Linked DNA regions of Homo sapiens: region 2 is linked to region 1. Evidence: promoter capture Hi-C in human tissues and cell types (Jung and others, 2019). All regions are on one chromosome and are shown on one strand. The core of a region is centred on a gene start or on the middle of the fragment in contact, and the rest is flanking DNA. Distances in the headings are between cores, read along the strand shown. Region 1 holds the start of CLASRP (CLK4 associating serine/arginine rich protein). Region 2 has its middle 7.8 kb from the start of IRGC.

What was found. The method cuts DNA at HindIII sites, captures the fragments that hold promoters and counts their contacts. A contact is called where the count stands out against the background at its distance.
Region 2: a contact is called between a fragment that was not itself captured here and the fragment with the promoter of CLASRP in region 1, in 1 of the 25 tissues and cell types used here (liver).

What each region holds. Positions count from the first base shown.
Region 1 is chr19:45,037,505-45,040,490 of GRCh38, reverse strand. It overlaps CLASRP (CLK4 associating serine/arginine rich protein), which reads right to left and starts at 1,446. Exons shown (of 21, transcript NM_007056.3): 1 at 1,383-1,446; 2 at 180-307. The coding sequence starts at 278. It overlaps RELB (RELB proto-oncogene, NF-kB subunit), which reads right to left. Exons shown (of 12, transcript NM_006509.4): 12 at 2,299-2,986. The coding sequence ends at 2,701. RefSeq lists an enhancer at 903-1,772. The HindIII fragment of the contact is 17,106 bases long and covers 1-2,986 here.
Region 2 is chr19:43,722,333-43,725,318 of GRCh38, reverse strand. No RefSeq gene overlaps it. Among named protein-coding and RNA genes, the nearest start is that of IRGC, 7.8 kb to the right of the region's middle. The HindIII fragment of the contact is 3,341 bases long and covers 1-2,986 here.

The DNA of each region.
Region 1 (2,986 bases), core at 197-2,696:
ACAAACAGAAGCCCTTGGGATCCCACCAATGATTATCCTCAAGAAAAGATTAATGAATATACTCCTGAGGAAATGAGCCTCTTGTCTTGACATACTTCCAAGCCCAGATTTTACCAGGATGACCAGCTGTGCCCCCCAACCCAGGGTCCCTCACCCCAGACAAAAGGCCAGTTACTCACGATCTTTTCATAATACTCCCGTCTCCGCTCCGCCCTCTTCTTGTAGTCGACCATCATGCCTCGAAGCTTCCGCTCATGCTTCCGAGCCTCGTGCCACATTGTGGTGAGGCCAAGCCTGGGGCCTCAACCTGAGGGATGAAGGGACCAGGAAAGTCAGATGGTCTGTGAAACCCGTATGGGCAGAATCAAAGTCATCTAACAAGTTGGTGGCAGAGTCGATCCCAAACAACACATCTCTTAGCTTCAGGGAGCAGAAGTGAAGCTGCAGAACAGTATGCCAGATGTTCAAGTCCATCCCTAACAACTTCGATCTAGAAGCTTGGGCATTCTGAAAAACCCTCAGGTGATTCTGAGGTGAGCATCACTGGGAAAGGGGTGTCCTAGATTCCACGCGCTGGAGTCGGGAATGAAAGGTTTTGAAACATCAGCAGTGTTTGAAGTAGGGTCAGAAGGCAAACCCTGAGCACTTAAGGCTGGAGCTCAAGAGAAAGAGAAGAACTGAAAAGGCTCCCACTAGGGGCCATGCGTGGGGTTGGGTATGAGTCTGGGTGGTAGAGGGATAAGGAGAATAAGGATGAAGGCAGGTGGAGGAAATCGGAGAAAGCTTTTAAGGGAACAGTGCAGTTGTATGAAGGTGGAGGTCGAGGACAGGTGAAGGGCGTGGCGGAAGATGAAGATGCTAGAGGGAGTGGGAACACGGGGAGGGAGTGTTGCAAGGAGACCAGAGTGAAGCTGAGGTCTAAAGATGGGATCTAGATGGCGGGGTGGGGAGAGCATCCAAAGAAAAAGAGCGTAGAGCCTGAGAGAGGCGGAGCTGGCTGACAGGAGGGCGTGGGCTGAGCTTGGGGGCAGGGCTTGCGGGAAAGGGCGGAGACCGAAGGTTTGGACGGGGCTTGTGGATCGCGTCGCGGCCTGAGGATTTGGGCTGGGTTTTTTTTTTGTTGTTTTTTTTTTTGACAAGGGGGCGGGGCCTGTGATAAGCTGCTGGGCCGAAGGCCGAGTTCGACGCGGCAACTTCTGGCCCACAGCCGGGGCACGGGCTCGGCCTGAGGCCCGTCAGGCCTAATGGGGTGAGGGACGAGCGATCCTCGGGGCCGGGACGCAGCAGAAGCCCACAGCAGCATGGGGAGAGCCTGAGGAAAGGGAGAAGCTGGGCTGAGGCCTGCCCGAAAACCGGGAGGTCGAGCCGCAGCCTGCACTCACCGGCTGGTCGCCGCCTCCCACCGCTGCGCTCGCGCGCGGCCCGCACCGGAAGCGGAAATGAAAGGCCGCGCTAGGGGGAGGGGGCGGAGCATGGTGGAGGGCCGCGCAGCGCACTTCCGCCGACGAGAGAGGCGGGTCCTAGAGTCGAGAGGGGCGGGATCCCGAGGAAGAAGTGGGAGAGCGGAGAAGGGAAGAGCTTGGATGCTTTATCTTTTTATCTTTTTTATTTTATTTATTTATTTAATTTTATTTTTTTGAGACGGAGTCTCTCTTTGTCTCCCAGGCTAGAAGGCAGTGGCGCGATCTAGGCTCACTGCAACCTTTGCCTCCTGGGTTTCAGCTATTCTCCCACCTCAGCCTCCCGAGTAGCTGGGACTACAAGCGCGCGCCACCAAGCCCGGCTAATTTTTGTATTTTTAGTAGAGATGGGGTTTCACCATTTTGGTTAGGCTGGTCTCAAACTCCTGACCTCAGGTGATCCACCTGCCTCGGCCTCCCAAAGTGCTGGGATTACAGCCATGAGCCACCATGCCCGGTCTCATTTTTTATTTTCATTTTCATTTTTTATTTTTTTGAGACACAGCCTCGCGCTGTCGCCCAAGCTGGAGTGCAGTGGTGCGGTCTTGGCTCACTGCAACGTCCACCTCCTGGGCTCAAGCGATCCTCCCACCTCAGCCTCTAGAGTAGCTGGGATTACAGGCGCGCAGCACCACGCCCGGCTAATTTTTGTATTTTTTGTAGAGACTAGGTTTCGTCATGTTGCCCAGGCTGGTCTCAAACTCGTGAGCTCAAGCGATCCTCCTGCTTTGGCCTCCCAAAGTGCTGGGATGACAGGCCTGAGCCCCCAGCCTGGAGGCTTTCTTTGCTACTAAGGGACTAGGGCGTTTCCCAAGCCCAGAACAGACGAAACCCCGGAGGCTCAAAAACTCATCTTTATTGGGAAGACTCTGAACAACCAACCTACCCCCCACCTTCAAGTCTGGGGAGGGAGGGCCAGGAATCTGCCCCCTCCTCCCATATGTACAATCTTTTCCGAATCCTACTGGAGAAGGTGCCCCCACATGTGGGGACAGAGGCAGCTGTAACAAGCTAGTGCACGGGAGCCATGTCCCTTTTCCTCTCCGGACTCAGTTTCCTCATCTGTAAAATGGGCTCAAGGGGAAACCCGTGCAACGGAGCTTCTCGCCAAGGCTGAATATGTCCACTTCAGAAGCATGAGGAAGGGCCAAGGGGATGGGGGTGCTAGACATCCTGGTTGGGATTGCACGGCTCCTCCACCTCCCTCCCCACCCAGTGCCCCTCCTCTGGCATCGCGGGGCTACGTGGCTTCAGGCCCCGGGGATAGGAGGCCGCCCCCAAAGGCCGCCTCGCGGTAATGATTGGGGAACATGTTGCTGCCCACAAGGCTGGCGGTGCCTCCATCCCCGGGGCCCGGGGCCTGGTACGAGTCCAGTGTCAGTGGTTCAGGGCCGGGGGTCTCCCCAACCACGGCCCCGGCACCTCCGCTGCACACAACAGCGCTAGCGTGTGGCGGTGCCGGGGGCAGCAGGTCCAGCATGGTGAAGAGTGTGGGGGCCGTAGGGTCGTAGGCAAAGCCATCGTCC
Region 2 (2,986 bases), core at 253-2,752, 1.3 Mb after region 1:
GTACTGGCCAAGTGCAGTGGCTCTCGGGCCTGTAATCCCAGCACTCTGGGAGGCCGAAGGGGGCGGATTGCTTGAGTCCAGGAGTTCGAGACCAGCCTGGGCAACATAGGGAAATCGTGTCTCTACTAAAAATATCAAAATAAGTAGTTTCAACTACTGGGGAGGCTGAGGTGGGAGAGTCACCTGAGCCTAGGAGATCAAGGCTGCAGTGAGTGGAGATCGTGCCATTGCACTCCAGTCTGAGTGACAGAATGAGACCCTCTCTCAAAAAAAAAAAAAAAAAAAAAAAAAAAAGCTGCCAAAAAAAAAAAAAAAAGCCTATTTGGCACTTGTGCCACCTGCCGTAAGTTTAACTCAGGAAAATGTGTACATCCCGATCCTGGACATTTTAATCTACCTAATGGGCCCTTCAAGGTTTGGCAAATGGATTTTATCCAACTACCCACTTCCGTGTGTGTGTGTGTGTGTGTGTGTGTGTGTGTGTGTGTATATATATATATATATATATATATGTACTAGTAACAGTTTGCACATTCTCCTATTGGGTAGAGGCTTTCCTGGTAGACAAGCCACTGCTTCAGCTGTGGCCAAAATTCTCCTGGAAAAAAAGTATTCCCACCTAGGGAACTCCCCTTGAAGTACATCGTGATCAGGAGCCCATTTTACTGGCCATATAATAAAACAAGTGAGTTCAGTTTGGCCAATTTCTCAGCATTTCCACTGTCTACAATCCCCAATCTTCTGGCTCAGTGGAACAAACAAGGGGAACTATAAAAACCCAGTTGGATGGCCGGGCACAGTAGCTCACCCCTGTAACCCCAGCACTTTGGAAGGCTGAGGCAGGCAGATCACTTGAGATCAGGAGTTCAAGACCAGCCTGGCCAACATGGTGAAACCCCATCCCTATTAAAAATACAAAAATTAGCCAGGTGTGGTGGTACACGCCTATAATCCCAGCTACTTGGGAGGCTGAGGCAGGAGAATTGCTCAAACCCAGGGGACAGAGGTTGCAGTGAGCTGAGATCAAGCCGCTGCACTCCAGCCTAGGTGATAGAGTGAGACTCCATTTCAAAACAAAAAAACAAAAAACCCAGTTGGCAGAATTTATCTACACCTTCCTTGACCTAAGTTCCTCCTTTGGTATTATTAAATCTAAGGGCCACTCTCTTTGGGGCTCATAAACTTTCACCTTTGGAAATAGTCACAGGCCATCCTATGCACTTGGCCTCCTCTGCTTTTGACCCTTAATTGATAAAAGGAGACATATCCATCTGGGTGCAGTGGCTCACACTCGTAAAATCCTAACACTTTGGGAGGCTGAAGCAAGGGGATCGCTTGAGTCCAGGAGCTCGAGACCAGCTTGGGTAACATGGCAAAACCCTGTCTCTACAAAAACACAAAAATTAGCTGGGTGTAGTTGTGTGTGCACCTGTAGTCCCAGCTACTCGGGATGCTGAGACGGGACGATCACTTCAACCGGGAGGCAGAGGTTGCAATGAGCCAAGATCCCGCTACCGTACTCCAGCCTGGGCACCAGAGGGAGACACTGTCTCAAAACAAAAACAAAAAAACAAAAAAAAACAAAACAGACATACTTCAATATTAATAAAGCCTTACTAAGGTAAAGGCATTAATAAAGCAATGGATAGAAATCATATTTTGATAGAACAATCTTTCCACAGCACAATCATAGGAGACAAAGACCTACAACACCATGATCTGCAGCCTGGCGACTTTGTCTATTGGAAAAGACACGTACGCAAGAATTCTATCCAGCCTTACCAGAAAGAGCCACATTAAGTCCTTCTCACCAATCCCTGTGCTGCCAAACTAAAGGGCATTGACTTCTGTATCCACATCTTTCATATTTATTTATTTATTTATTTTTGAGATGGGGTTTTGCCCAGGCTGGAGTGCAGTGGCATGATCTCGGCTCACTGCCACTTATGCCCACTGGGTTCAAGCGATTCTCCTGCCTCAGCCTCCCAAGTAGCTGGGATTACAGGTGCCTGCCACCACGCCCAGCTAATTTTTGTGTTTTTAGTGGAGATGGAGATGGGGTTTCACCATGTTGGCCGGGCTGGTCTTGAACTCCTGACCTCAAGTAATCCGCCCACCTCGGCCTCCCAAAATGCTGGGATTACGGGCGTGAGCCACTGCGCCCAGCCTATTTTTTCTTTTTTTGAGATAGGATCTCATTCTGTCACCCAGGCTGGAGTGCAGTGGCACGATCATGGCCCATTACAGCCTTGACCTCTGAGGCCCAAGTGATCCTCCCACCTCAGCCTCCTGAGTAGCTAGGCCTACAGGCGCGTGCCACATGCCTGGCTAGTTTTTTGTATTTTTTGTAGAGACAGGGTCTCGCCATGTTGCCTAGGCTGGTCTCCAACTCCTGGGCTCAAGTGATCCTGCTGCCTCGGACTCCCTAAGTGCTGGGATTACAGGTATGAGCCCTGCGCCCAGCCACAAAGTCAAACTTTGAGACATACATGTTCAGATTCCCTGTTTCACCCCAAAAGTGACTGCAGTCTACAGAAAAGACATTGAAATTAGATCTTAAAACTGCCCAAAACCAGAATTTAACTAAATGCAAAAATACGCTGGGCATGGTCATTCATACCTGTAACCCCAGCACTTTGGGAGGCCAAAGCAGGAGGATCACTTGAAGCCAGGTGTTCAAGACCAGATTGGCCAACACAGTGAAACCCCGTTTCTACTAAAAGTACAAAAAAATTAGCCGGGCACGGTGGCTCATGCCTATAATCCCAGCAACTCAGGAGGCTGAGGTTGGAGAATCGCTTGAACCCGGGAGGTGGAGGTTGCAGTGAGCTGATATCATGTGACTGCACTCCATCCTGATGACAAAGTGAGACCTTGTCTCACAAAAAAAAAAAAAAAAAAAAGCAAAAATATTTATGCTCCTAATCCTTTAATTGTTGATGGTCTCCAGCAATGTCATAATTAGATAATAGAAGCTTGGGCAAAT